Regions from separate parts of the Homo sapiens genome. Here regions 2, 3, 4 and 5 are each linked to region 1. Evidence: promoter capture Hi-C in human tissues and cell types (Jung and others, 2019). All regions are on one chromosome and are shown on one strand. Each heading gives the region's core, a stretch centred on a gene start or on the middle of the fragment in contact. The rest is flanking DNA. Distances are from core to core; before and after follow the strand shown. Region 1 holds the start of RAB11FIP3 (RAB11 family interacting protein 3). Region 2 holds the start of POLR3K (RNA polymerase III subunit K). Region 3 holds the start of RHBDF1 (rhomboid 5 homolog 1). Region 4 overlaps NPRL3 (NPR3 like, GATOR1 complex subunit). Region 5 overlaps NPRL3 (NPR3 like, GATOR1 complex subunit).

Region 1 (5,867 bases), core at 1-2,500:
AGCGCAATTCAACCAGAAATCCAGGGCCGAAGTGGTGAATAAGCAGAAAAAGCAGGACCGTCAGGTCTTGACAGTGCCTTTCCCGACTCCAGGGGCAGCGTCGACCGGTCCCACATCAACCCCGCCGGCCAGCGCGCACCTGCCCAGTTCCCACGCCCCGGCCCGGGCCGCTCCGTACCTGCTCTGCCCCGTAGACCGTAGCAAACTGGATGAAGTCCTCGATGCGGACGAAACCGTCCCCATCCCCGTCCAGGGCATCGAACACGGCTCGGAGGCGGGGGCCGTCCTCCTGACTCCCCACGGGCTCGCTCGGAAGGGGGTGGGTCTGGCTGAGGTCCGAGGGCTGCGGCGGGGACCCGGGACCTTGCTCCAGCGCCAGCTCGCCCGCCGTGGGCGCGGGGAAGGGAGAGAAGACGTCGACCTCGCCCCGCGCTCGGTGGCTGCTGCTGGACCCCTGCAAGCGGAAAGGCGCGCTCTCCGGGCAGCTCGCGGGGCCACACTCCTCGGGCTCCTCAGTCCAGGAGAACAACGGGTCGAGTTCTGGAAGCGGCGCTTCGGAGCGCGGCCCTGGGCCCGGGGCGTCGGGGCTCGCAAGCTGCCCCCGCGGGCCGGAGCGCGGCGGCGGGGCGGACGGCCCGGGGTCTCGCGGGCCTCCCTCCAGCCCCGGGGCCGGCCCGGCGCTCCAACGCGCCCCGCCATCTGCAGCGGCCCCGGGCGCAGGCTCATCCAGGCCCGGGGACTGCGGGTCGGGGCCGCCGACGGGCGCTCCGAGGCGTAGCTCCGCAGGGCCCGGAGCCAGTTGTGCCGCCCCCGGCCCGTCCGGCCCGCCCGGCTCCGGGTCGGGCCCCGGCGGCTCCGAGCCCGGGGGCGAGGCCGGCGGGGCCGACGCCATGCTCCCGAGAGGCTAGTGGTGCGGAAGGGCGCGGGCGGCAGACAAAGGCGCTCAGGGCGCGGCGGCGGGCGCGGGCATCCCCTCGGCGGCGCGGGCGGGCGCGCGCGGGGCGCCCGGGCTGCTGGGGCTGGCGCTCGGGCCCTGCTCTGTCCTCGCCCATCTTCGCACCGCGCCTCAGCTGCCCTCGGCCCGGCGGCGCGGCGGGCGCAGGCCCATGGCGGCGGGGCGGCCTAGGGAGGGCGGCGAGGATCCGGGCGGCGGATGGCGGGGGACGGGGGCCGAGGAGGCCGGGGGACGGGGGCCGAGGAGGCCGGAGGCCGCGGAGCCTGTGAAGCAGGATGAGGAGACTAAGGAGGCTGAGGCGCCTGAGGTACCCGGAGAACTAACGCCGCCGCCGCCCAGGCCCCGCCCCCCGTCGGGCCTGACGTCAGCACGTCCCGGCGGGGTCCCAGCCCCTCGCCGGCTTGCTGTAGAGGCAGGCGCCGGGTGTGTCGCGGCAGTGCAGCGGCCGCGAAGGGGTGTTTTGCTGTATGTCATATTCCTCGTTTCGCCAGAGCGGGGGTCCCGAGCTTCGGGCGCGGGACGCGGGGGTGCTCCGAGGCTGCGAGTGGAGGCGTGACGTGACGTCCCTGGCAAGAGGCGCGCGGAGTCAGGCCTTACTTAGAACGTGTTCCCGCCGCACAGCTACCAGCGGGCGCGACCGCTACCCACGCATGGTGCGGTCGAGTAAACGGCACCGCCTGGCGAGCGAGAGACGCAAAGGGACATAGCCCCCTAGGAGCTGAGCTCTTCGGGGGTAAAGCGTTCTCACGTTGATGAGACCAGGAGGCGGCGCACGCCTGGCTCCGCGGCCCAGGGGTTGCAGGTGCCCCAGGGTTCGCGGGGCGCAGACGCCGCAGAGGGCGACGCCCTGCCCGGGTCCCGCGCGGACCCGGGGGACGCAGGGTCTGACACGGAGTGCGGAGGGGCCCCAGACACGCAGTCCATGTCCCTTGAAACCAGAGGCACGCGCGGCCACGCGCTAGGCCTTTCCCTTAAGCCTGTGACCAAGATCTCCGGGACTCCCAGCGTTGGGACGGGCGCGCTGGCCCACGCCCAAGCGGGAGGATCGCTTGCGCCCAGGAGATTGAGACCAGCCTGAGCACCAAAGCGAGACCTCGTCTCTACAAAAAATAAGACTCAAGAAGACACCCAGGGTGAATCGCCCGTCTGCAGCCAGCCTCCCGAGCACCGTGGCCGCGTCTGACAACTGACCTCTGTGTCTGGGTGTCCCTGTCCTCAGAGGGACACGGGACCTCAGAAAGGACCACAGCCCGGCGGCAGGCATGATGGTGGGAAAGCTAGTTAGGACAGGTGAGGCACTAAATTTAGCCTGTCATAATTTGTATCAGGGAAATGATGAACTTGTATTTTTACACACCATGGGCACCAACACAAGATATGGTTTCGTAAGCAGCTTTGGCAAGAACCAAAGGAACGGAACCTCTGCTTCCAAGTGTACGGTCAGGAGCAGCGTGTTAATTAAGTGAGTCATCTTCCGTGGCAGAATCCCAGGGTACATGGGACCAGACTTCGCGAGGCTGGCATTAGGAAAAGGAATGTGAGGGATCCTCCTCCCCAAACCGTATTCTCATTTTCTTGTAAGAGCTGTACGTGTTCATGAGGAAGATACTGCATTCAAAGAACGAAATCACCAGCAGCTTTGGCAAGAATTCAAATTTGGGCTGATGCCTTCGGCCGGATAAAATTTTCAGAAGCAGTGATAGTGATGTGTCAACCTTTCTAAATAGGGGTGTTAGTGTGGGCGAGGCAGAGACAGCAGGCTCCCTCTGCTTTTATGTGCCGGCGCTGCCAGAGGCAGAAGGCTGGCTTTCTGAGAGCAGGGGCCCGCACGCTCTGTCTGTGCTAGGGCTGGAAAACGTCCATTGCGTGCCCGGCTGGTGTCCTCCATGGAACCACAGCCTGGAAGCCTGCACCTCCCTGCCTGGACCAGTTAGAGGCTGTTCATGAAAGACTAAAGGGACAAGTTCCCGTCTATCCGTCTGCTGTTCAGAGCTACTATCTGTGTCCCCTTTGTAGGCTGTGGGCTGTAGCAGTTCCTTCTTTTCTTTTCTTTTCTTTTTTTTCCCCGAGACAGGGTTTTGCTCTGTTGCCCAGGCTGCAGTGCAGTGGTGCGACCATAGCTCACGGCAGCCTCAACCTCCTAGGCTCAAGAGATCCTCCCACCTTAGGCCAGGTGTGGTAGCTCATGCCTGTAATCCCAGGACTGTGGGAGGCTGAGGCGGGCGGATCACGAGGTCAGAAAATGGAGACCATCCTGGCTAACACGGTGAAACCCCGTCTCTACTAAAAATACAAAAAAACAAAAATTAGCCAGGTGTGGTGGCAGGCACCTGTAGTCCCAGCTATTTGGGAGGCTGAGGCAGGAGAAAGGCGTGAACCCGGGAGGCAGAGCTTGCAGCGAGCCAAGATTGCACCATTGCACTCCAGCCTGGATGATAGAGCAAGACTCCGTCTCCAAAATAAAAAATAAAAATAGAAGAGAGATCCTCCCACCTCAGCCTCTCCAGTAGCTGAGACCACAGATCTGCAGCACCTTATTATCTTTTTTTTTTTTTTGATATGGAGTCTCACTCTGTCGCCCAGGCTGGAGTGCAATGGCGCGATCTCTGGTCACTGCAACCTCCGCCTCCCGGGTTCAAGTGATTCCCCTACCTCAGCCTCCTGAGTAGCTGGGATTACAGGCGTATGCCACCAAGGCCGGCTAATTTTTTGTATTTTTAGTAGAGACCGGGGTTTCACCATGTTGGTCAAGCTGGTCTCAAACTCCTGACCTCAAGTGATCCGCCCACCTCGGCCTCCCAAAGTGCTGGGATTATTGGCATGAGTCACCACACTTGGCCTCAACATGCGTTTTGGAGGGTATAAACATTCAAAGCATAGCCTCCATCTTCTCACTCTGTCCTCACATGTTGGAGAAAGATTGTCTCTTTTGGGCTGGGCGTGGGAGCTCATGCCTGTAATTCCAGCACTTTGGGAGGCCGAGGCGGGTGGATCACGAGGTCAGGAGTTCAAGACCAGCCTGGCCAAGATGGTGAAACCCCGTATCTACTAAAAAATAGAAAATTTAGGCCGGGCGCGGTTGCTCAGCCTATAATCCCAGCACTTTGGGAGGCAAGGTGGGCGGATCACAAGGTCAAGAGATCGAAAACATCCTGGCAAACATGGTGAAACCCTGTCTCTACTAAAAATACAAAAATTAGCCGGGTGTGGTGGCACCCACCTGTAGTCCCAGCTACTCGGGAGCCTGAGGGAGGAGAATCGCTTGAACCTGGGAGGCAGAGGTTGCAGTGAGCGAAGATCGCACCACTGCACTCCAGCCTGGCGACAGAGCGAGACTCCACCTAAAAAATATATGTATATATTAGCCGGCCGTGGTGGCGGGCACCTGTAATCCCAGCTACTCAGGAGGCTGAGGCAAAGAATTGCTTGAACCCGGGAGGTGGAGGTTGCAGTGAGTCAAGATCACACCACTGTACTGCAGCCTGGGTGATGGAGTGAGACTCTGTCTCAAAAAAAAAGAAAAAAAATTATCCGGGGGCGGTGGCGGGTGCGTGTAATCCCAGCTACTCAGGAGGCTGAACAGGGTAATCACTTGAGCCTGGGAGGCAGAGGTTGCAATGAGCTGAGATCCAGCCACTACACTCCAGCCTGGGCAACAGAGCGAGACTATCTCAAAAAAAAAAAAAAGGCGGGCGTAATGGCTCACGCCTGTAATCCCAACACTTTAGGAGGCCAAGGCGGGTGGATAACCTGAGGTCAGGAGTTCGAGACTAGCCTGGCCAACATGGTAAAACCCTGTCTCTACTAAAAATACAAAAACTAGCTGAGCGTGGTGGCGTGTCCTGTAATCCCAGCTACCTGGGAGGCTGAGGCAGGAGAATACTTGAACCCGGGAGGTGGAGGTTGCAGTGAGCCAAGATCCCACCATTGCACTCCAGCCTGGGCAACAAGAGGGAAACTCCATCTCAAGGAAAACAATAAAATAAAAATAAGGCTGGGCACGGTGCCTCACGCCTGTAATCCCAGCACTCTGGGAGACCGATGCGGGTGGATTACCTGAGGTCAGGAGTTCAAGACCAGGCTTGCCATGGTGAAACCCCATCTCTACTAAAAATACAAAAAATTAGCCAGGCATGGTGGTGCATGCCTGTAATCCCAGCTACTTGGGAGGCTGAGGCAGGAGAATCACTAGAACCTGGGAGGCGGAGGTTGCAGTGAATCGAGATTGTGCCATGGCACTCCAGCCTGGGCAGCAAGAGTGAAACTCCGTCTCAAAAAAAGAAAAAAGAAAAAAAAAGACTGTCTCTTCTAATAAGGGCACTGTTCCCATCGTGAGGGCCCCACCTTGCTGACCGTATCTAACCCTAATTATTATTATTATTATTTTTTTTTGAGACGGAGTCTTGCTCTGTCGTCCAGGCTGAAGTGCAATGGCGCCATCTCAGCTCACTGCAATCTCTGCCTCCCGGATTCATGCCATTCTCCTGCCTCAGCCTCCCCAGTAGCTGGGACCACAGGCACCCGCCACCATGCCTGGCTAATTGTTTTGTATTTTTACTAGAGCCGGGGTTTCACCGTGTTAACCAGGATGGTCTCGATCTCCTGAGCTCATGATCCACCCGCCTCGGCATCCCAAAGTGCTGGGATTACAGGCGTGAGCCACCGCGCCCGGCCCTAACCCTAAGTTATACCTCCCAAAGACCTCATCTCCAAATACCATCCCGTTGGCGTTAGGACTCCAATATATAAATTTTGGGGTAGCAACTGGGAAGAGAGAGTTAGAATGGATTTAATGGACAAAATATTCATTTCTAGAATACACAAAAGAATTTCTCAAAAAACAGTAAACGAACAGCAACCCGATAGAAAAACGAGGAAAGAATATGAATAAGCAGCTCCAGAAGAGGAAATT
Region 2 (5,867 bases), core at 1-2,500, 370 kb after region 1:
AATACAAAAAATTAGCCGGGCGTGGTGGCGCGTGCCTGTAGTGAACCCGGGAGGGGGAGGTTGCAGTGAGTCGAGATGGCACCACTACACTCCAGCCTGGCAACGGACCAAGACTCAGTCTCAAATAAATAAATAAATAAATAAAAAGACAGTATCGTCCCAAAGCATGATACTGACGCTTTGACACATGATTGACGCTTGAGGCAAATGGAACAATCAGTACTACTAATCTTGCTCTTATTTAAAACTAAATTTTTCTTTTACCGTAGGCTCTTTTTTTGCCTCAACTTTGACTTTTAAAGGTATTACAGGCCAGGCGGGTGGCTCACACCTAAATCCCAGCATTTTGGGAGGCCGAGGCAGGAGGATCGCCTGAGCCCAGGAGTTTCAGATCAGCCTGGGCAACATAGTGAGACTCCCTCTGTACAAAATATTTAAAAATTAGCCGGGTGTGGTAGCGCGCACCTGTGGTCCCAATTACTCGGGAGGCTGAGGTGGGAGGACGCCGCTGCACTCCAGCCCGGGCAACGCAGCAAGACCCTGTCCCCCGAGCCCCCTAAATACAATTACATTAAAATGTCATTTGATGTCACTCACTAATGAGGTTTTTGGTTCCTCTTTAAGCTTCGCGCCCCAGGCGAGTGCGCCCGGTCAAGGTTAAAACCCTCGTTTACGCCCAGAGGCGCCTTCCTCAGCCTTGGGCCGCAGTCTCCCACCAGCACCTTCGGAGGCTGCCGGCGCCCGGATGCCCGGACCCCGGGGAACGACTCCCGCGCCCCCAGCCCCCGCCCGCACACACCTGGATCGGCAGATCGCAGAGCAGCGGGTCCTGCACCACCATAGCCAGACCCTCCTGGAACACGTCCATGGCCTCGGAGTGCGGCAGCGCCTCTTCTTCGTCCTCATCTTCCTCTTGCGCCTCGGGCCCACCCGCGGCCTCCGTCTCCTCCAGGGCCGCCCCTCTCAGCCGGGCTCTGCCCGCACTGCCAGCCCGCACTAGGGAGGCCAAGCGCGCACGCGCAGGAACTGCGGCCCGCCCCAGCGAGGCCGCCCAGCCACTGGCGCGCCGGGGGGGGTGGGGCGGCTGCAGTGACCAATGACAAGTGCGAGACAGCCTGCAGCAGGGCCGGGAGCGCAGAATCGCCCTGTCTATTGGTTGGTTGGTGTGGCGGGAAGGCTGCCAGGACCAATGTGAGCTCGAGGCGGGCGGCGCATCGGCGCTGAGCGGCAGTGGGAGCTGCCGGGAGTTGGAGCCTGCGGAGTTCGAGACCATGCTGCTGTTCTGCCCCGGCTGCGGGAACGGGCTGATCGTGGAGGAGGGACAACGCTGCCACCGCTTCGCCTGCAACACGTGCCCCTACGTGCACAACATCACCCGCAAGGTGGGACCCGAAGGCCGGCGCTGGGCGCGGGCGACTCTCGCAGGCCTTCCGCGTCCTCCGACTGCTGCTCCATCGCCGCCAGCCCCGGCGTCTGCCTCTGTCCGCTCTTTCTCGCGCCCCTTTCTGGTCTGCAGCAGATCTGTGGGCTCTACTTTCCAATACACTCAGAAAGCCCCACCGTTTCCCACCGCCTTGGGTTCCTGCTCCCACGCTCGCGCCCTTCTCTGCGTTCACAGCGGCGGCCACGGTGATTTCCTTAAAGCTGAGGCACGCAGGTCCGTGCTGTGCGCAGAAACCTTCGGCTCTTCTCCAGCTCACGCAGACGAAAAGCCGGAGTTCTCCCAGGGCCTACCAGGTTCCGACACTGACTCCCTCCCCTGCGTGCGTCTCCGATTTCAAGTCCTAATGCCCTTCCTGTTGCCCTTTGCCGCATCAACACCGCCTCCTGGACGATCTCTCATCGTGCTCATGGTGCTAGCAGGGCCTTTGCACTTGCTGTTGCTCAGTTCACTCTTCCCCTAGATCGCCACCTTACTCATTGGTCTTGTCTTTACCGTATTTTAAATTTCAGCCCCTCCTTCCAATTTATTCTCCTTCCCTTTGTAATTGTTTCCATAGGGCTTATTACCTTCTAATATATTATGTAATGTATTGTGTGCTTTCTTTATTTTTTTTTATTGTTTTTTTTTTTTTTTTTTTTTTTTTTTTTTGAGACGGAGTCCCGCTCTGTCGCCCAGGCTGGAGTGCAGTGGCGCGATCTCGGCTCACTGCAAGCTCTGCCTCCCGGGTTCACGCCACTCTCCTGCCTCAGCCTCCCAATTAGCTGGGACTACAGGCGTCCGCCACCACCCCTGGCTGATTTTTTTGTATTTTTAGTAGAGATGGGGTTTCACCGTGTGTTAGCCAGGACGGTCTCCTGACCTCGTGATCTGCCCGCCTCGGCCTCCCAAAGTGCTGGGATTACAGGCGTGAGCCACCGCGCCCGACCTTTTTTTTTTTTTTTTTTTTTTTTTTTTTTTTTTTTTTTTTGAGACAGAGTCTCGCTCTGTTTCCCAGGCTGGAGTGCAATGGCGTAATCTCGGCTCACTGCAACCTCTGCCTCCCGGGTTCAAGCAATTCTTCTGCCTCGGCTTCCCGAGTAGCTGGAATTACAGGCGCCTGCCACCATCCCCGGCTAATTTTTGTATTTTTAGTAAAGACGGGGTTTCACCGCGCTGGCCAGGCTGGTCTCGAACTCCCAACCTCAGGTGATCCGCTTGCCTTGGCCTCCCAAAGTGCTGGGATTATAGGCGTGAGCCACCACGCCTGGCCAGAATACCTTTACTTTTTAGCAGTTAGAATATGTTGGTGCTACGTCAGTCTTAATGTTTGCATGCTACTCCAGTTTGTACTGTGTTGTGGGAGTTTGGAGTTTGAAACTACGGGAAGAGTGAACTCTTTGTTTTTTTTTTTTTTTGAGATGGAGTCTTGCTCCGTAGCCCAGGCTGGAGTGCAGTGGTGTGATCTCGGCTCACTGCAAGCTCCGCCTCCCAGGTTCACACCATTCTCCTGCCTCAGCCTCCTGAGTAGCTGGGACTACAGGCGCCCGCCAACACGCCGGGCTAATTTTTTGTATTTTTAGTAGAGACAGGGTTTCACCGTGTTAGCCAGGATGGTCTCGATCTCTTGACCTCGTGATCCGCCCGTCTTGGCCTCCCAAAGTGCTGGGATTACAGGTGTCAGCCACCACGCCCAGCCGAGTGAACTCTTATGTAATCCTGAAATTTAAGGTTTGGCAGCCCAGGTTTGCGCTATTCAGTTACTTGGAGTCTGAAGTGTTGTTTTTGTTAGGTAACAAATCGGAAGTACCCAAAACTGAAAGAAGTGGATGATGTGCTTGGTGGAGCAGCTGCCTGGGAGAATGTTGACTCTACTGCAGGTAAGAGGGAAAACTGTTTCTGTTGCTAAACTGTGGATAATTATGAGGCTGTTGATGCCACTGCTTGGCAGAGTCTATGATGTCATATAAATGATGTAGGTTTCTAAAAATAGAAAATGGTTCTTGAATAATTTATTTGTATTTGTTACTGTTTAATAATCTGTCAGACAAGCAATATTTGTGCCAGCCTTGGAGTCATACAGGCCCGGGTCAGATTCTCAGGGCAACCTTGTATTGTTGTAGGACCTTCCTTGGGTCTCTTGACTTCTCTGGGGCTAATCCATATTCGTAGACCGCGAGAGCATAAAGTGAATTATACCGTGCTTGGTATATAAGAGGCACTCAACAGGTGATAGCTTTGATAATGGCAATGATGAGTAGATTAATAAAAATAAGAGTCTAAGGAAAAAAGTATGTTCTTTCTGTTTGATATGGTTTGGCTGTGTCTCCACCCTAATCTCATCTTGAATTATAGTTTCCGTAATCCCCAGGTGTCCTGGGAGGGGCCCAGTGGGAGGTAATTGAATCATGGGAGCGGTTTCCCCCCATGCTGTTCTCCTGATAGTGAGTGAGTTCTCACAAGATCAGATCGTTTTATAAGCGTTTGCGTTTCCCCTGCTCGCACTCATTCTGTCTCCTGCTGCTCTGTGAAGAGGTTCCTTTCGCCATGATTGTAGGTTTCCTGAGGCATCCCCAGCCACGCAGAACTGTGAGTAAATTAGACCTCTTTTCTTGGCTGGGTGTCGTGGCTCACGCCTGTAAATCCCAGCAGTTTGGGAGGCCAAGGTAGGCAGATCACTTGAGGTCAGGAGTTCCAGACCAGCCTGGCCCGCATGGTGAAACCCTGTCTCTATTAAAGATAAAATAATTAGCCGGGTGTGGTGGCGCTCGCCTGTAGACCCAACTGCTCAGGAGGCTGAGGTACGAGAATTGCTTGAACCCAGGAGGCAGAGGTTGCAGTGAGCCGAGATCACACTACTGCACTCTAGCCTCGGTGACAAGAGTGAGACTCTGTCTCAAAACAAACAAAACCCCTTTTGTCTATATAAATTACCCAGTCTCAGGTATTCATAGCAGTGTGAGAACGGACTAATACACGCTTCTAATATAGATTTTTAGAAGTTAATACCAGTGAGCATTAAACTGCAGATTGGGTAAAATACATGTTTATTGCATGTCTGGTAGACATAGATGTGGCCAGGAGAGGAAAGGGGAAGACGTAAATGTAAGTTATATTGAGAGGTGAGAGAGATAACTGATGGTTAGTACTGTGGTTTTCCCCCTATAAAAGAACATATAGGCTGGGTGTGGTGGCTCACGCCTGCAATCTCAGCACTTTGGGAGGCCGAGGCGGGCGGATCACCTGAGGTCAGGAGTTCGAGACCAGCCTGGCTAACACGGTGAAACCCCATTTCTGCTAAAAATACAAAAAATTAGCCAGGCGTGGTGGCAGCACCTGTAATCCCAGCTACTCGGGAGGCTGAGACAGGAGAATCGCTTGAACCCGGGAAGTGGAGGTTGCAGTGAGCCAAGATTGCATCATTGCACTCCAGCCTGGGCAACAAGAACGAAACTCTGTCAAAAAAAAGAACATACAAATCTGCTATGTGAAAAAGTTAGCAGCTGGCACGGTGGCTCACACCTATAATCCCAGCATTTTGGGAGGCCAATGTGGGCGGATCACGAGGTCAAGACATCGAGACCATCCTGGCCAACATGGTGAAACCCCGTCTCCACTAAAAATACAAAAAGTAGCTGAGCGTGGTGGTGCCTGCCTGTAATCCCAGCTACTTGGGAGGCTGAGACAGGAGAATCGCTTGAACCTGTGAGGCGGAGGTTGTAGTGAGCTGAGATCGTGCTATTGCACTCTAGCCCAGGCAACAGGAGCAAAACTCCGTCTCAAAAAAAAAAAAAAAACAAATTAGCCAGGCTCAGTGGCGCGTGCCTGTAGTCCTAGCTACTCAGGAGGCTGAGGCAGGAGAATTGCTTGAACCAGGAGGCGGAGGTTGCAGTGAGCCGAGACCATGCCACTCCAGCCTGAGTGAGACTGTCTAAAAAAAAAAAATCTTTTTACCTAATGTCAGAAATAGAGTGTTTGAAGCCATTTCTGTCAGGTGTAGGATAAGTTTCTCAAAGTGAAATCGCTTTGAAGAGTGCAATGGTGTGATCTCGGCTCACTGCAACCTCCACTTCCCAGGTTCAAGTGATTCTCCTTCCTCGGCCTCATGAGTAGCTGGGATTACAGGCATGCGCCACCACGCCCAGCTAATTTTGTATTTTTAGTAGAGATGGGGTTTCTCCATGTTGATAAGGCTGGTCACGAACTCCCGACCTCAGGTGATCTGTTGGCCTCAGCCTCCCAAAGTGCTGGGATTACAGGCCTGAGCCACTGTGCCTGGCTTTTTTTTTGAGATGGAGTCTCTTTTGCCCAGGCTGGAGTGTAGTGGCACGATCTCTGCTCACTGCAAACCTATGCTGCCCGGGTTCAAGCGATTCTCCTGCCTCAGCCTCCCTAGTAGCTGGGATTACAGGCACCTGCCACCACGCCCGGCTAATTTTTGTAGTTT
Region 3 (5,867 bases), core at 972-3,471, 350 kb after region 1:
GGGGGTTGTTCTGTGGCGGGGAGGAGTGGGGGTCACAAGGTGCCTCAGTGGGGGAGCTTCTGAGCCAGGAGAAGGAATTTCACAAGGTAATGTCATCAGTTAAGGCAGGAACCGGCCATTTTCACTTCTTTTGTGATTCTTCACTTGCTTCATCTGGATGTATACGTGCAGGCTTGGGCTCAGAGGCCTGACACTGAGCACACGTGTATCGACCCCCCTCTGATCATCCTTCTGATGACCTCACTCAGGAGGCCAGGGTGGGCTGAGAGCCTGGGGATTCCTGGACACAGGCTCTGAGCTGGGGATTTGCCTGCAGAGGCAGACTGGGGCATGCTCCCCACTGAAGGTGACTCCTGGGTGCGGGGGGTTTCAGCTCTGAGCCAGCTGTGACTGGTGCTCCTGGCAGCTGGCGATGAGTGTCTGGGTCTTGGAGCGGGTCTAGGTGGGGTCTGACAGAGTCCACTGCAGGAGGAGACCTGCTGACACCAGATGCCCAGCTGTGGCATGCTTTGGAGGCAAGCCCAGTCCCCAGCTTTCCAGAGAGGACACCACTTCTGGCCCTGCCAGCCTAGTCTGGGCATCCAGGCCCGATAGGGCTTGCTTATCCCTGGCAGGTCAATAATGCTAAGCATGGAGACTGTCCTGTCTCTGGCTGTGAGCCTGGCATGGGAGGGGTGGCACGTGCAGGCTATCGGAGCACTGAGTGTTGGCACTGGGGCAGGCTCCCTCTCACCCGGTGTCCGTGATGCACTGGCAGTCATCCCCTGGTGGAGTTACCCTCCACCCCCTCCAAAGCTTCCATTGTCTCCTTCTACATGAGAATTGTGTTGATATTGCTTGTGTTCAGAGAGCACCCATTATGTGCAGGCACCGCCCTATCCCGTGGCATGGACAAGGATATGGGCAGGGGAATCTTGCCCAGGCTCTGGGATCTACCGGTAAGTGTACCAGCACCTTTAGTTCAAATTCTCCCCTTTTCTGTCTAGCCAAGGAGCAGGCCATTGTCTGCGTCGGGCCCTCAAGTGCAACAGCTCAGTTTGGAGAGGGCTGGTGCCACCCAGACCCAGAGGATGGCACTGAAGCAGCAGCACCTTGTGACCAGCACAGGGCCTGAAGACACATTTGTCCGAGGCATGGGGGGGCACCCTGTAGAGGGGTCCTTAGGGACCCATGGGACGAAGGGATCCCTGCACCCTCTATCCAGAGGAAGCCTTGGCCACCCACCACTCAGAGCTCCTGGACAGCCCTGCCCGTACTCTGCTGTTGGCACCCCTGTCCCCCACCCTGGGAGGGTCAGCCCACCCAGTGTCAGGAGAGAAATGCTGGGAAACTCTCACCAGCAGCCCCAGCGGAAAGCAGAGTGCCATTTTGAGTCCAGCCCAGATTGTGCAGGGATATGAGCCCACCCCGGGGTGGCCGCTGAGCTCTGAGACAGTGAGAAGAGCCCAGAGTGGACACCAGACACTGCGCTGCCTCTGCTGAGTGGCTTCGGGTGGGGCCGGTGCAGCCTGGCCTGAGTGCCTGCTGGTGGAGCGGGGCTTCTGGGGGTAGGGGCACAGGGCAGGGGGAGGGGTAATGACTGTGGTCCTGAACTGAGTGTGTGCATCGGTGTGTACACGTGTGTGTGTGCACGTGTATGTACCCATGAAAGATGTACATGAGTAGGTGGGTGCATGTGAGCACGTGCATGTGCAGGCGAATGAACGCATGAAGTGGAAGGATGTGGGGACGTGTGTGTATGATTGTGAGTGATCGGTGCACATGAATGTGTGTGAGGGAATGTGAGTGCTTAGTGGGATTGGGTGAGTGTGGGATACAGGACTTGTCAGCGTGGGCCTCTGGAGGAGGTCGGGTTTAGGGGAGCCAGGGATACACACCCATCCTCCGCCCTTTACCCCGTGCCTGCTCTCCCTCCTCACCCTCTTCTCAGCACAAATCAGGGCAGGACAGCTCAAGCCTCAATCTGGAGCCAGGGAGAGGCGGAGCCGCCCAGCGCTGACACTGCGGTCCGCTCCCACCAGGTCCTCCGTCGGGCCGAGGCGCTGGAGACCCCAGCCCCAGGTGTCCCCGCAGGCGGACCCTGGGGAGAAGGGAGCCCGGCGGCCTTCCGGGAGGAGGTGACTTGGGCCGGGCAGGCGGGCGGCGCGCATTCCTGAGCTCTGAGTCAGCGCGACCGCCCCGCTCCGGCCGGGCCCGCCCCCGGGCGCACGCCCCTCGCTCCAGGGCATTCCCGGGCGGGCCGGACCGGCGGGCGGGCGGGGACTCGGCGCGGGCCCTCCCGGCCAGCGGCGGCAGCCTCCTCCCCGGCGCCCTCAGGACCCCCCAGAGCCCCCGGCGGCGGCAGTGAGTGAGCGCGGCCGGGAGCGCAGGGCTCCGGGGGCGGGCGGGTTCCGGGGCTGCGTCCGGAGGGCGGGGCGAGTCCTCAGCACCCGGGGCCGGAGCTGCTCAGAGCGGCCGGGGCCGTGTCGGGGCCGGGGCCGGGGCCGGGGAGGGGTCGCGGCGAGGCCCCCCCGGGGCGGCCGGGCTTTTCTTCCTGGAGTTTCCCGAGTCGCCCGCGGAGGCGGCCCAGCCCCGGATTCCTAGCCCGGCGCGCCGCAAAAATAGCCCGTGGCCGGATTAGCAGCCCCAGCGGCCTGGCCGGGCGGGACAGCTCGGCTCCAGCCCCCGCCCAACAGCTGAGGGTCCCAGGAGCGGGAGTCTAGAGTCCGGGGGTGCCCCAGGTTCCTCTGAACTCCCCCCGCTGCATTTTCCTTCCCGGCCACGACCGGCGGGTGGTGTCTCCGAGCTGAAACTCCAGCCCAGGGCGGGATGGTCCCTGTCCCGGCTGCCCTCACCGATGGGAATAGCAGGAGCCGTGGAGCTGGGGGTGGGGGACTGACTCCGCCTTCTGCCCCACGACACTGACTCCCCCATCTGTACACTTCGAAGCTCCAGGGTGGGCTGGGAGCGACTCCCGAAGACAGACTCTCACTCTGTGCGCAGAGGCCAACGGGGACAGGCCTTCTCCCGGCTGGGGTGACAGCCAGACCCCAGATGCTCAGGGCATTGGCAGAGGGCCTGGTTGTCTGTCATGCTGGGGGCATGTTTGTGGGGCTGGGCGGGGAATGGGCAGGGGATCTTCCCTGGCCCCCCAGGGCCTGCTTCCGACCGAGGTGGTCCTGACCAGAGTTTCTTCTGTGTGTGCCGCTTGAGATGGTGAATGTGTGTGTCTGTCCCGGTGGGTGGGGCCTAGGTCTGGAGGCCCTTCTCCTATCCTGGGAACTCCCACCCGCCAACGGGACTTCCTGTTGGAGACCGGGAGAAGATTCAAGGATGAAACTGGCTTTTCAGGTTTGACCCAGCTAGATGCCTGGGCAGTCCCAGGCTCGGTTCTCCTCACCCCTGTGGAGCTAACCCCAACCTCCTAGCCCCGACCCCAAGGGTGGGCAGAAGCTGGGGACCAAGCAGCTGGCTGGGGCTCAAGGGGTCCCTGAGGCGGAGCCCCCTGCCACCAGGGGTCATTCTGGGCAAGCCGGGCCCCTTTTCCTGAGAATGGGGCAGGGGCAAATGGAGTGCATGGGAGTCTGGTGGTGCCAGATTGAAGGGGCCTCAGACCCTTTCCCAGCCCTTCCAAGTAGCTTTCACTGGCTGGGTGGCCTCCGTTGCACAAGCAGGCCCCTCAACCAGCACCCCTCATGAGCTGGCCGGTCCCCACCTTGGGGAGCTGACTTTCTAGGGTGCGCTCTTGGTTTAGGGGGAGTCGTCCAGGTCTCCCCTGCCTTTCAGGGACCATCAGGCCCTCCCCTAGGATCTTCCCAGCTACAGTCCCTGCCCAGGGCACCCCCAGTTGCTCTTGGCTGTGAGGGCCTCCGCCACACCGGCTCCAGTTCCCCCACCTCAGTGTCTGTGCCAGGATCACATTTTGCCCAGTGATTGGATTCCTTGGCTTCTGCCTTTTTTTCTGAGTTGGACGATTTTGGGGGTGAGTCCTTCCTTCTTCAACTGAGATGCCCCTGATGGAGCAGGTGGCAAGGGGTCTTAGAAGGGTCTGACAGCCGTCCACAGCCACAAGGCTGAAGAACCCAGGTGGTCTGCCTTGTCTTCTGGGGGTCTGCAGACAGGGTCCCTTCCACTGCAGCTCCTGGGCAGACCTGGCCCAAGGCTTTGAGCTCCCTTATAGGCCCTGGGACCTTAGGCAGTGATGGGCTTCTCTGAGCCTCAGTTTCCTTATCTGTAAGATGGATACAGAGGACCCCTCCCAGGGGTTAGACAGACCAGTGTGATCAGTCAGGATCTGGTTTGAGGAAGCTGAGCCAGGCTGCTGAGGACCGAAGCCATTTCTGCTCTGACTTGGTTTCCCTCCTGTGGCCTCTCTAGTCCTATCCTGCTTCTGGTGGGTCCTGGGAGGGGGTTGCAGGGTTGCTGAGCCCAAGGGTGCCTGGGCACCTGGGTGCATGTGTGTAGGGTCAGTCAGGGACACCTCTGGAGGGCTCTGACTGGTGACTGGGCTGCCCATCTGTCCTCTGGCCAGACGTGTGCAGGGGATGTGGGCCTCTCCCACCTGCAGCCTGGGGAGGGTGTTTTCGCCTAACTCCTGAGACCCAGCTAGACTCCAGACTGGGGACTAGCAGTGACCAGCATACCAGGCAGTTTACCCCCAGAATCTAGTGTAGCTAAGTCCTTGCTGCCATCCCCTTTCTGACTGTGTGGCCTGGACAGGTGCCCTGAGCTGCACTTGGTGTCCCCTGATTCCTGGGTGTGTCTGCCATGTCAGCCCCTGTCAGACCCAACTGAGTCAGGGGTTTAGCTCTGGTGACCCCTGTGCCACATTTGCTAGCTGAGCCTTGGGGCAGTGCCCCCCCCCCTCCTGCCAAGTGCTGGCCCCTTTGTGCACTACCCTCACAGGTCAGGTCCTCAGGGATTCCTGTGTCTACAGGCCCTAGGGCGGCTTCCCTCACAGATGGCCTGTAGCAGGGAACCTCTTGTTCTGTCTCCTTGTCTAGGGTGATGAGGGGAGGCAGGGTGCCAGTCTGTCCTGCTGGGGACCTGGAGAGAACCCTGCAAAGGTCTCAGGCCTGCCCTGCTCCACCCTGAACCTCATTTCTTCCACAGAAAAGAAGAGGCTTCACTGGGAGGGTTGAAGAGCACTTTGGGGTTTGCAAAGGGCCTAGCAAATATCATTCTCAGCATGATGCCATTAATAGACAAGGCAGAGAGGCCAGGTGACTTTCCCTTCATTAATCCAGAAGACCTGGAGGCTGGGCTGCCAGACAGCTGGTGACCCCCTTCTCAAGGGAGATCTAGGATTGAGCTTCAGATTAGGAGTCAAACAGAAGACTGAGGGTCAGAGAGCAGCGTGTGGGTGGGGATGCTGGAGGAGCCACATCCCCCTGGGATGAGGCTCATGTGAGCTGAGGACACGTCTGGGAAGGTGTCCCGGGGTGAGGCCCCTTGCTCCAGCTGACCTCGGCAGCAGGCAGTTCCTTGGGCGGAGCAGAGCCCAGGCTTGATGGTTCTGGCCCCGGGGTTGGCAGTCAACTCCGCCGCCAGTTGTCCCTGCCAGCATGGTCCTGTGAGTGTGCAGGGCAGGCCTGAGTACAGAGGTGGTTGCTGCTCACACCTGAGGATGCAGCTCTCCACTGGCTGTGGCCACTGTCTATGCCTGGACTGGCCAGAGCTTCTCTCTAGTCTCTTCCCAAACTCGACACCTTTGGAGGGTTCTGTCCCCAGGTGTCCCCAGGGCTGCCCTCTTGTTGCATATGCTCTAGGGTCCTTTCACCCCCCAGCTCCTGCCCCTCAGAGAGTGCCAAGTACCCACAGGCTACACCACCCTGTGATGGAGTCAGCCGCTGCTACTGTGCCAGGCACTGCTGTGACCCCTGATTTCC
Region 4 (5,867 bases), core at 2,609-5,108, 320 kb after region 1:
TGCTCAGATCCCTTGTTCATTCTTCTATCGGGAGATATAAGTCCTTAAACATGGGAGAGTGATTTGTCTTTTGTGATATAAGTTGCAACTAGCATTTGTTTGTCTCTTGGTGACCCTGGGGACTGAGCCTCCCCAGGTGTGAGAGAACATCAGCCCTTGCCAGGTGATTGCTTTGTTTTCTGGCCCCTTCTGTGTTGCAGAATGGGACCTTTGTGGTCATGTAGTCTGACCCTGTCTTTGATTCATTGTTATCACACTAATGTTTTCTCTGTGTTGAGAGAATTACTACCCTCTGGCTTTGAATTGCCTGGTATCCAGTCTCTTCCTTGGACATTGTTCCCTTATTCTGAGTGTATGCCTCAACTCGGATTAGATTACAAACAAAAATCAGGCTAACTTGGAATTAAAATAAAAACCAAGCTGGTGCGGTGGTGTGCTCCTGTAGTCCCATCTCACAGGCGAGGCCAAGGTTGGGGGATCACTTGAGCCCAGGAGTTCGAGCTTGTAGTGCTCTATGCTGGTGTCTGAGTAGCCACTGTACTCCAGCCCCAGCAACATGGTGAGACCCTGTCTCTTAAAAATTTGTTTAAATAAAAACCAAACCATTGACTTTATATTTCTTTTTCTTCTTCTTTTTTTTTTTTTTTTTTGAGATGGAATATCCTTCTGTTGCCCAGGCTGGAGTGCATTCTTCTGCCTCAGCCTCCCGAGTAGCTGGGACTACAGGTGCACATCACCATGCCTGGCTAATTTTTGTATTTTTAGTAGAGATGGGGTTTCACCATATTGGCCAGGCTGGTCTCGAACTCCTGACCTTGTAGATCCGCCCGGCTCGGCCTCCCAAAATGCTGGGATGACAGGCGTGAGCACCGTGCCCGGCTCGTTGACTTTATATTTCTAAAGGAAGAATGGACTATGATTTCTTAGGTTTGAATCGTGCTGGAAAGTTGAAAGGAGACAAAACCTTGGACTGCCTGTTGTGTGATCTGCAGGCTGCGGAGGAGCTCAGAACTTGAGGCAACCCAGCGCCACCTAGTGGATATTAAAGGAGGACAGGAATCTGAGTTTTGCTGAAAAAGGCTCCTAAGCTGTTGTTCAGCATGTAGCATTCTTTCCTGACCTACGCATTCTGTTTGTTAGTGCCCAGGATCACATTTCCTCCATCCAAACTCCCACCCTAACAGTCTTGGGTCCTGGAGCTTGCCCCAGGGATGCTGGCAGCTATGTTTCTCTGGCAGGAGTCCAGGCAGTAGTACCCTCCCTGTACCCATCCTTGTCTGGCACTGGCATGGCTCTGCAGCCACCCAGGAGCCCCTCTGGGCTGTGGCCTCTCGTCTGTCCTCATCCCATCAGGTCCATGGTTGGCCTCAAGGGTCTGGTCTGCTGCTGCTCACTCTTCTGCACTGAGAGGAGGAGACTGAGTTTCCATTACTGATCAGGTGACCTAGGACAGAGCGCCTTTCTCCTGATGGTGACTGACTGCCAGATCTGGGGGAATCTCAGAACAGAACTGAAAGACCAGAAGCTGTGAGATTAATGAGGTTGGAGATTGGGGTGGGATTTTTCAAAGGAATTGTTCCTGGTTCTTTTTTTTTTTTTTTTTTTTTTTTTTTTTAATTTAAGGCAGGGTCTCACTCTATTGCCAGGCTGGAGCGCAATCTTGGCTCACTGCAACATCTGTCTCCCAGGCTCAGGTGATCCTTCCATCTCGGCCTCCCGAGTAGCTGGGACTATAGGCACCCGCCCCCACGCCTGAATAGTTTTTGTATTTTTTTGTGGAAATGGGATTTTGCCATGTTACCCTGGCTGATCTTGAATTCCTGGACTCAAGCAATCTACCCACCTTAGCCTCCCAAAGTGCTGGGATTATAGGCGTGAGCCACCATGCCCTGCCCCCAGTTGCTATTTTATTTATTTATTTATTTATTTGTTTGTTTGAGACGGAGTCTTGCTTCGTCACCCAGGCTGGAGTGCAATGGCACAATCTCAGTTCACTGCAACCTCCGTCTCCCGGGCTTAAGTGATTCTCCTGCCTCAGCCTCCTGAGCAGCTGGGATTACGGCGCCTGCCACCAGGCCTGGCTAATTTTTGTATTTTTAGTAGAGATGGAGTTTCACCATGTTGGCCAGCCTGGTCTTGAACTCCTGACCTCGTGATCTGCCAACCTCGACCTCCCAAAGTGCTAGGACTACAGGCGTGAGCCACCACGTCCGGTCCCCAGTTGCTATTTTAATTAAAGCTAGGGTTATGGTGTGGCTGAATAGCCTGGTGGCCCTGTCCTGCAGGACCTAACATCTGTGAATATAGGCTGGGAATGTGAATCGCTCAGGAGGCCACCCCAACACTTGTGCCATACCTAGCACTTGTGTCTCCCTGTGGATCCCAGTGGCCCTCAGTGACAGCATGTCACTCATTCATATGACCATTGAATTGTGTCTCCCAGGAGGGCAGGGATGTCTCTTCACTTTCTGCAACACAGCCCCTACACTCAGCCTGTGGAGGAGCACAGCTCATCCGCTAGGGGTCGACGGAATGTGTGGGTGGGAATAACAGCAGTGTAGATTCCATGGAGTGTGAAGAAGTGATTTGCTGAATGGTTCTCCGAGTTAACAGGACCTGTGGTGGGGAGTGATGTCCAGGGTCTGGCTGGGTAGGTGGTACTTGGTGCGGAGCCTTGCACTGCAAACTGTCGAGAGCAGGGTTGGTCCCATGGACCCTCTGTGAATATCCTGAGTTGTAGTACCCATTTCCATAAAAATGCACCTATATATAAACTTTCGTTTGAAATTTCAAGGTAGGCTGTTTGGAACCCACATAGATCTTTTGGGTTATGCAGCATCCCACTACTTATGGTAGGAAGCCAGGCCCATCCGTGGGACCAGAGGATGCAGAGGTTTGCAGGATAGCTTCACAGGTCCTGTCTAGTTCTAAGGTTAGGAATGGATGCTTTCTCAGATGCTAAAAGCTGAGGGGACTAGACTAAGCTTGTGCACATTTCTGTCTTGGAGATGAACGGCGAGAGTGTGTTTGAAGCCAGCCATTCCCTTTTGCATAGTCATTGTCAGGATGCAGGGCTTTGGCTGGGGCACCTATCTCCTGTCACAGACTGGGCTGGGCCCTCTTGGCTGGCCCAGAGCTGTGTGAGGGGCTGGATAAGTCTTGAGGAGGACAGTGTTTTCCTCCAGAGTGTTTTCAGACCAAACCATTAAACACCTTGCAAATAGAAGTGCAAGCTCGGCAGGAAACCTTTCAGGGCCCAAACCCTGCTTGTGCTAAGGGCTCTTGTCTTAAAGCTGCAGACTTAAAAACAGTGACAAACCTTTCTCTTTCCCCTTGTTAACAGACCTCAGTGCAGCTCCTGGCTTACCCTCTTACTGTGGGGGATTTACAGGCTGGAGGTTGGGCCGGCACCTTTCCAGAGCAGTCATCCCTCTGACATGTTCAGGGAATTTGCCCAGGTCTGCCATGGCCTTTGGGGCACTCCTGGTGGCAGCACTTGTCACCGCTCTAGGGAGCTGGGTTAGTTCATAAAGAAGCACCAGCCTCAGTGCAGAGTGCTCTGAGGGAGAAAGCAGCAGGTGGGTGAGCTGATGCTTGGGAAAATGGAGTAAAGTCCACGTGGAAGTTAGAGGAACCAACATGGCGTGTCTCTGCCAGAGGAGAGGGCCCCATGCCAGTGTACAAACCAGACCACATGACTGCGGCTCCAAGGACAGCTGACACGGTGAGGGCAGCAGAGATGACCAAGCTGGGAAGTCACTAGAAGAACCTTCATGTGACCCTCCTGCCCTCATTTCTCCATACCCATAGCTGGAACTTGTTCCTGGCTTTCCATGAGGTGTGTTCCAAGCCCCTGTTCCTTTCCCTATAACTCTCTCCAGTTTCTAATGCTCCATACAATTTGATTACAATTAGGTGTCTTTTTTTTTAAACGTTAATTTCAATTTTTTTTGAGACAGGGTCTTGCTCTGTCACCCAGGCTGGAGTGCAATGGCGCGATCTCGGCTCACTGCAACCTCCGCCTCCTGGGTTCAAGTGATTCTCCTGCCTCAGCCTACCAAGTAGCTGGGATTACAGGCACCTGCCACCACACCTGGCTAATTTTTTTTTTTTTTTTTGAGATGGAGTTTCACTTTTGTTGCCCAGGCTGGAGTGCAATGGCACGATCTCAGCTCAGTGCAACCTCCGCCTCCGCCTCTACCTCCCAGGTTCAAGTGATTTTCCTGCCTCAGCCTTCCAAGTAGCTGGGATTACAGGCATGCACCACCACGCCCAGCTAATTTTGTACTTTTAATAGAGACGGGGTTTCTCCCTGTTGGTCAGTCTGGTCTCAAACTTCTGACCTCAGGTGATCTGCCCATCTCAGCCTCCCAAAGTGCTGGGATTACAGGTGTGAGCCACGGCACCCGGCCTAATATTTGTATTTTTAGTAGAGACAGGGTTTCACCATGTTGGCCAGGCTGGTCTCGAACTCCTGACCTCAAGTGATCGGCCTGCCTCGGCCTCCCAGGTTTTGGGATTACAGGCGTGAGCCGCCACGCCCGGCCAATTATGTGTCTGTCTAGATGCCGCTGAGTGAAGCCCCCAGCGTGCAGAGCAGCCAAGTTATTTTCTTCCCTGCTGCACTCCAAGTACCTAAACTGGTGCTGGGAGCCACAGCACATGTCATAAGGCCTCACTGTGCTCCTAGATGGAGCAAAGACAGCTACATTTGAAACAATAGGAGCCTCCGTATTCTGATTCTGTGGTGTCCCAACAGCCACTTTGAGCTGCATCCTAAATAGGACAGAAACAGAAAGGCCTTGGGTGGGTGCGGTGGCTCACGCCTGTAATCCTAGCACTTTGAAAAGCCAAGGTGGGAGGATCGCTTGAGCCCAGGAGTTTGAGACCAGCCTAGGCAACATAGACCCTGTCTCTACAAAAAAAAAAAAAAAAAAAAAAAAAAAAATCACCCCAGGCGTGATGTTGCACGTCTGTAGTCCCAGTTACTTGGGAGGTTGTCTTGAGCCTGGGAGATCAAGGCTGCAGTGAGCGGAGATGGCGCCACTGCACTCCAGCCTGAGCAACAGTGAGACCTTGTCTCAGAAAAAAGAAAAAAAAAATAGACCTTTTATTTCCAGTGGCCCTCCTTTCTGACCCAGATGGTGACAGCACAGTGCATGGGGCCACCTCTCGCTTGCCCTTTCTTCCCTGTCGCATACGGATGCCAAGATCCTAACTATTGCTTACTCAAGTTGAGTAACCTGGATCCCCTGGACAAATCTCTCCTGGTGTGATCTTTAATTCCTTAGCGGCTGGGACATTTCTCAGGGTTTGATACGAGTTTTTCACCCTGCAAAGACCCTGACCAAAGAGAGGTAAGGTTCTGGGAGCCTCTGTCTGCCCCGACATACTTGGTTAGCATGCAGTTCTGGAAGAAGCTGAGACTGCTGCCCTCCTCTGGGACCTTGGGGCCATGGTGTTCTCTGAGCACCCCGTATTGACGTGTCCTAAGAGACGTCCGAGGGGCCGTTTGTACCTTCTGGCCTGGGGCAGCCAGAAGTCTGGCCAAGTCTCCCGGACTTAGCCGGATGTGGGTGTGTTGGCCTGTCCCGCCAACTGGGAGCTGAGAATAGCAGAATAGGGTCAGGGGGTGATGGGAAAAGCACTAGTTGGCTGCTCTCCTGGGCAGTGGGGCAGTGAACAGAGGAAACATGATGCGGGGAGGTGCTGTAGAAATGGGCAGTTTGGAGAAGAACTTGTGTGTGTTTTGCTCCTATTTTAGAACTGGTGTCATTGTGAGGCTTCACAGGCTGCGTTCCCTGTGCAGGACACAAGGAAGGTGCCGGCCACTTTGAGTAGCCAGGCCTTGACAAGAGTAGGTGGAG
Region 5 (5,867 bases), core at 1,819-4,318, 300 kb after region 1:
ACCCTGTCTCTTTTGAAGAAAAAAAAGAAAAAAGGAAAAAAAAAAAGAAAAGAAAAGATGAGATACTTCTGCACAGGCATCCGGCTAATACATATGGTGCTGGGTCTGACCCAGCTCTGCCAGCCTTGTGCTTACTTCTGAAAAATGACTTTTGTTCCTGCCCAGCCTGTACTTCTGTGTGAGAATTTGACTTTTAGTGAGAAAACCCCATGGTAAGCGTTGAGCGTGGGGAGCGTGTGACCCTGTTTCTCAGCGTGGGGAGTGTGTGACCCTGTTTCTCACATGTTGGGAGTGTGTGATCTGTTTCTCAGCGTGGGGAGTGTGTGATCCTGTTTCTCAGCGTGGGGAGTGTGTGATCTGTTTCTCAGCGTGGGGAGGGTGTGACCCTGTTTCTCAGCGTGGGGAGTGTGTGATCCTGTTTCTCAGCGGTGGGGAGTGTGTGATCCTGTTTCTCAACGTGGGGAGTGTGTGACCCTGTTTCTCAGCGTGGGGAGTGTGTGACCCTGTTTCTCAGCGTGGGGAGTGTGTGACCCTCTTTCTCAGCGTGGGGAGTGTGTGATCCTGTTTCTCAGCGTGGGGAGTGTGTGATCCTGTTTCTCAGCGTGGGGAGTGTGTGACCCTGTTTCTCAGCGTGGGGAGTGTGTGACCCTGTTTCTCAGCGTGGGGAGTGTGTGATCCTGTTTCTTGTCTGGTAAGTTGCTTAGTCGTGATGGTCAACAGTTAATGCTTAATGGTGGCACTTCTGCTAGACTTTTGTGCAGTTTTTATAAAATAGCCTTGTAACTTTTCATGGTTTTTAAAAAAGTGATATGTTTTTGTTTGGTCTTGATGGTCCTGTTCCCATTTCAGCGAGCCATGTCCTCCAACCGATGAGCAATTGGTTGCAGGGTAAGACCGAGACCTCTCCACCGTCTTTCTGTCTTGATTCCGGCTGCCTTCTCTTCTTGTAATTGTGCTTAATTCCTGATTTCCCTCCATGTTGAAGAGTGACTGATGAGGCACACAGGCGTGGACCTCACTGCCCCAGTTCCCCCATGAATGCCCAGACTTCCCACCACCCCGGCTTTTTCTCTACCCAGTCATTTAGCTATTTCACATTACCTGAGAGGCCAAGGCATGGCTGGCTGGCACCCGGGAGACTTCTGGGACCAGGCATGTCACACAAACCTCCTCTTCCTCCAGGTAGGCACAAGTAGTCCTGTGAGGGTGGCGGGCAAGCAGGAGTGGACTCTGTCATCTCCCTAGTCCACTGCCGCCCTAGAGAGACCTGTGACTGTTGCTCCTTGTTTTTATTTTTTGAGGGGTTTTGTGGGGGCCTCTCCCAAGGGTTGGGCATTAAGTGTGATGCTCAGGCCTAGATGCTATTGAGTGTGCTTAATAGAGGCAGAAATGTTCTCATGGAATTGATATGGTGCTTGTCCAGGAGGGCACGGATGACGGGCGACTCTTCCATTCCCCTTGACAGTGCATCTCCTCTGGGCCTTGGAGGTACACACAGTGTCTGTGAGCTTCCAGCAAGGAGGTGGGTGGGGCGAGCAGAGTTGAGCTCCCCTCCAGGATGTCTTTCCATCCCTTTAGGTGGGTGGGGGGAGCAGAACTGAGCTCCCTTCCAGGATGTCTTTCCATCCCTTTTTTTGTCCAAGCTAGAGAGCAAACCCTACTCCAGAATAGCTCGGCAGTGATAGAAGGTCCTGGCCTGTTTTCTGGCTGGGCTGGTTCATCTTCCTAAATGTGTTTTTCTTGAATTTCCAAGTTATTCCAGGAATCTTCAGTTTTTGTAACAGATGTTTTATTGTGCTGCAGTACATTTATTAGGCCTTTCACCATCAAAATGAGGGAAAAGGATTTTCATAAATGTTGGAAGCCAATAAAACAAAACAACACTTGTTTATGGTTCAGTTTGCTGTTTATAAGTTTTGCCCCACCCCCAATCTCATGAATATAACTCTGTCTTTATGTGTATTACATTACCAGACAGACTATATAAAGTATAAAGCCAGATGGGTGCAGTGGCTCATGCCTGTCATCCCAGCACTTTGGGAGGCCGAGGTGGGCAGATCATGAGGTCAGGAGGTCGAGACCAGCCTGGCCAACGTGGTGAAACCTTGTCTCTACTAAAAAATATGAAAAATTAGCCGGGCTTGGTGGCACGCGCCTGTAATCCCAGATATTTGGGAGGCTGAGGCAGTAGAATCGCTTGAACCCAAGAGGCGGAGGTTTCAGTGAGCCGAGATTGCGCCATTACACTCCAGCCTGGGCGACAGAGCAAGACTCCATCTCAAGGGGGAAAAGAAAAAGCCGCTCAATTGTTTTGTCATGGGGCCGGGCGTGGTGGCTCACGCCTGTCATCCCAGCACTTTGGGAGGCCGAGGCGGGCGGATCACCTGAGGTCAGGAGTTCGAGACCAGCCTGACCAACATGGTGAAACCCCGTCTCTACTAAAAATACAAAAATTAGCTGGGCGTGGTGGCGGGTGCCTCTAATCGCAGCTACTCGGGAGGCTGAGGCAGGAGAATTGCTTGAACTCGGGAGGCGGAGGTTGCAGTGAGCCGAGATTACGTCATTGCACTCCAGCCTGGGGGACAAGAGCAAGACTTCGTCTCAAAAAGAAAAAAAAGCGTTTTGTCATTATATGTTTGTAATATTAAGGTGTGGGGAGTAGATTTCTCTGTGGGCCAGATTTGCTCAGATAAACAATGGCTAACTACCACCCTGCTGGCTGCCTCAGAGGGCTCCATGAACAGCCACTAAGTCAATGTGACTGTTTTTTTTTTTGAGACGGAGTTTCGCTCTGTCACCCAGGCTGGAGTGCAGTGGCACGATCTCCGCTCACTGCAACCTCTGCCGCCCAGGTTCAAGCGATTCTCCTGCCTCAGCCTCCCGACTAGCTGGGACTACAGGCTTCACTGCGCCCGGCTAATTTTTGTATTTTTAGTAGAGACGGGGGTTTCATTATGTTGGCCATGCTGGTCTCGAACTCCTGACCTCGGGTGATCCACCCACTTCAGCCTCCCAAAGTGCTGGGATGACAGGTGTGAGCCACCACGCCTGGCCCAGTGTGCCTTTTTACTTCAGCTCACAGATTTCCAGTTGGCCGTCTCTGCAGACCCTGGCCTCTAGCAGGGAAAGAGCCTTTTATTTGGCTGTTGTGAGGGCGCCTTGAAGTTTAGGTATTTATAAACGCGAACTGGGCTACCACTGCTTGCCTCTGAGAATCCCAGGGACCATCTCACAGCCAAACTAAATTTGGTCCCTGGACTGGTGCCTGAGGGCTGAGGCTGAGACATGGCTGTGACTCTTTATGACAGAGCAGCAGTTTTTAGTGGAGATTTTGGGCTGTCAGAGCAAGGGACCTTTCTGGAGTGGTGGTGGTTATTTTTCTGTTACCTCTGTGTCCCCTGAGTCACTGGGTGGCAGAGTGGAGGGGCACTGTTTAGATAGGATGTGAGGCGTTGGCCCTGGGTCAGTTGCTAGAGCAGAAGTGTTTGGTGGCGTTTTAATACCTCAAACCCTCCTTCAACATTACCATGTCCCACAGATGGGAGTTATAGAACAGAGTGAGCCATTTAGGGTTTTTGAAGAAAGCATATTATGCCTGTGGTGTAAGGCACTTGAATCCTCCATCTCTGCAGGAGAGACCTGCAGTGGGCTGCTGAGGACTTGGCTGTGGGTCCTGCGTTTCCCAGGATAACTCTAACAAGATTGATTTCAGAAGGTCCAACTGCAACCTGACTGGGTTGAGAGGCTATTTCCAAATGGCACAAATAGGTTTGACCAAACCCTCGTATGTGGTTTGTTTGTGAGCCTAGGGTGACTTCGGATGGTTAGAGGGTCGTGCCAGTTCAGGAGGAAGGCTGGAAAACAGTCTGAGCCCCACAGCCCATGATAGACTTGGAAAGAATCATGTAGCTACTTGCCATTTGCTATTACAGAGCTGAGCTACAGTGCAGTTCAAAGCAGGCCTTCCTTTTTCATCACAACATGGAGGAGTTATGTCAGTCTCTCCCATCCCTTCACCAAGAGGGCCTCTGGGGAAGAAGCATGACCAGGTTTGCACCCTAGAATGTCTGTCCTCAGTGGTCTCTTCTAGGACCTTAGGGGTCTCCCTGCCCAGGGGCAGAGTATGGCCCTGCGGAGGCTAGAGCTTCCCCAAGAGAGTGCACCCTCCTGACCTAGATATTAGATATATTTTTCCTGGGTGGAGAGATATGTATGGGACTTCTCTCTCTTCTGGGTCCAGATCAGAGGTAGTACATTTGTGTTTCTAGAGCGGAGGCCCTCAGAGCCCTGGACTCTGAGATAAGAGTCAGCACCACCCACAGCACCCCTGCAGGTGACACTCCCTTATCCAGATCTCCCCAGGCAGGAGGCATCAGCATTGCCAGTAAGGAGACAGAAGGGCACAGATGACCTTGAAAAGGGGAAAAGGGATGCCCTCCCTCCCACACCACAGCTGCACCCACTTCTCCGTGGCACCCAGTTGTGTGCAACCTGGTATTTCTGCCATTTGGAAATAGCTGTGATCACAGTGGGCTTGCACATCTTGCACAAAGCTTCTTCCCTGATAAAAACCGGAAAGTTTAAGTGTTTGGGATAAGGGAACGGATGGGCAGCCATGCTATGAGGAAGGAAGTCAGCGCTCTGCACGCATCCCTGTGCACTGTCCCCTTGCCCTCCACGCGGCTCTTTGGGTGAAGGGCCGCTCTGTGGGTGAAGGGCCTGGGTCCTGGGAGTTGAAGGTGCAGCACAGCAAACCTGAGTGTAACTGGGAGAGGCCCCTCTGCCTGTGAACTTTAAAGAGCAGCTCCGCAGGGCAGTGCCGGCTCCAGCTGATCCTCCCTTTGAAAGCAAACTGCAACTGTTTCTCTCCTGAATTTAATAGAGCATGCCAAAAAATGACAGCATGTGCCTTCAGTCTGTGCTTCTCATGCCTTTTACCTTGTAATTCTGGTGATCTTACATCCATAACCTCTGGGATTGCTACAGAAGGGCAACTGTTAGTAGCTTCCACCAGCAGTCGGGGCAGAGCAACTCCATGAAGGTGCAGTTTACTGAGACCCTTCCGCTCTGGGGCCAGCAGGGCATGGTGCTGTGGTATTTTGTTAACTTATTTTTATTCTACCTCTCTTAAATTTTAAGGTTTTCAGATGTTATTCTGGCAACAATTTTGGCAACCAAGTCTGAAATGTGTGGCCAAAAATTTGAACTGAAGATTGATAATGTGCGATTTGTTGGGCACCCAACACTGCTACAGCATGCTCTGGGGCAGGTATGGCTCTCCCTGGGCAGGTGGGGCTCTCCCTGGGCAGATGTGGCTCTCCTTGGGCAGGTGTGGCTCTCCTTGGGCAGGTGTGGCTCTCCTTGGGCAGGTGTGGCTTCCCCTGGGCAGGTGTGGCTCTCCTTGGGCAGGTGGGGCTCCCCCTGGGTAGATTTGGCTTCCCCTGGGCAGATGTGGCTTCCCCTGGGCAGGTACAGACCCTCTGGGAAGGTGTGGCTCCCCCTGGGCAGGTGTGGCTTCCCCTGGGCAGATGCGTCTGTCCTTGGGCAGGTGGGGTTCTCCCTGGGCATGCACAGACCCTCTGGGCAGATGTGGCTCTCCCTGGGCCGGCAGGCCTGGTCCATTCTGGCTCTGGGGGGCTCAGAACTGAGGCTGACACCAGCTCTGGTGAAGGTACTGGGCAGGAGACCTGATTAGACACTTGGTATGAACTGTGCATCTTCATAAACCCAGAGAGTCCAGTAGAAAAAGAGACAGGTGTTCTTGCCCCTGAAGACAGGTGCTTCAGTCCCTGTCCCTAGCTTTTACAGTCTGCATTCTAGGTCTCTACTGACTGTGGCCCTCCCCTTCATATGTAGGATGTCTGTTT

Evidence for each region. The method cuts DNA at HindIII sites, captures the fragments that hold promoters and counts their contacts. A contact is called where the count stands out against the background at its distance.
Region 2: a contact is called between the fragment with the promoter of POLR3K here and the fragment with the promoter of RAB11FIP3 in region 1, in 1 of the 25 tissues and cell types used here (lymphoblastoid cells).
Region 3: a contact is called between a fragment that was not itself captured here and the fragment with the promoter of RAB11FIP3 in region 1, in 1 of the 25 tissues and cell types used here (lymphoblastoid cells).
Region 4: a contact is called between a fragment that was not itself captured here and the fragment with the promoter of RAB11FIP3 in region 1, in 7 of the 25 tissues and cell types used here (dorsolateral prefrontal cortex, heart right ventricle, liver and 4 more).
Region 5: a fragment that was not itself captured here is called in contact with the fragment with the promoter of RAB11FIP3 in region 1 in 2 of the 25 tissues and cell types used here (lymphoblastoid cells and mesenchymal stem cells).

What each region holds. Positions count from the first base shown.
Region 1 is chr16:421,032-426,898 of GRCh38, reverse strand. It overlaps RAB11FIP3 (RAB11 family interacting protein 3), which reads right to left and starts at 1,250. Exons shown (of 14, transcript NM_014700.4): 1 at 179-1,250. The coding sequence starts at 892. The HindIII fragment of the contact is 17,968 bases long and covers 1-5,867 here.
Region 2 is chr16:48,991-54,857 of GRCh38, reverse strand. POLR3K (RNA polymerase III subunit K) reads left to right here and starts at 1,250. Exons shown (of 3, transcript NM_016310.5): 1 at 1,250-1,382; 2 at 3,213-3,300. The coding sequence starts at 1,272. It overlaps SNRNP25 (small nuclear ribonucleoprotein U11/U12 subunit 25), which reads right to left and starts at 1,030. Exons shown (of 5, transcript NM_024571.4): 1 at 800-1,030. The coding sequence starts at 841. RefSeq lists silencers at 680-779, 920-1,239 and enhancers at 1,570-1,729, 1,458-1,984. The HindIII fragment of the contact is 23,499 bases long and covers 1-5,867 here.
Region 3 is chr16:68,989-74,855 of GRCh38, reverse strand. RHBDF1 (rhomboid 5 homolog 1) reads left to right here and starts at 2,225. Exons shown (of 18, transcript NM_022450.5): 1 at 2,225-2,343. LOC124903617 (a long non-coding RNA gene) reads right to left here and starts at 2,029. Exons shown (of 2, transcript XR_007064932.1): 1 at 1,920-2,029; 2 at 1-476. RefSeq lists enhancers at 1-376, 377-1,193, 1,194-2,011, 3,648-4,465 and silencers at 2,166-2,225, 2,472-2,655. The HindIII fragment of the contact is 4,515 bases long and covers 1-4,478 here.
Region 4 is chr16:102,378-108,244 of GRCh38, reverse strand. All of the region lies in intron 7 of NPRL3 (NPR3 like, GATOR1 complex subunit), which reads left to right. Among named protein-coding and RNA genes, the nearest start is that of MPG, 27 kb to the right of the region's middle. RefSeq lists an enhancer at 1-1,489. The HindIII fragment of the contact is 7,021 bases long and covers 348-5,867 here.
Region 5 is chr16:118,528-124,394 of GRCh38, reverse strand. NPRL3 (NPR3 like, GATOR1 complex subunit) reads left to right here. Exons shown (of 14, transcript NM_001077350.3): 4 at 5,140-5,269. Among named protein-coding and RNA genes, the nearest start is that of NPRL3, 17 kb to the left of the region's middle. The HindIII fragment of the contact is 8,123 bases long and covers 1-5,867 here.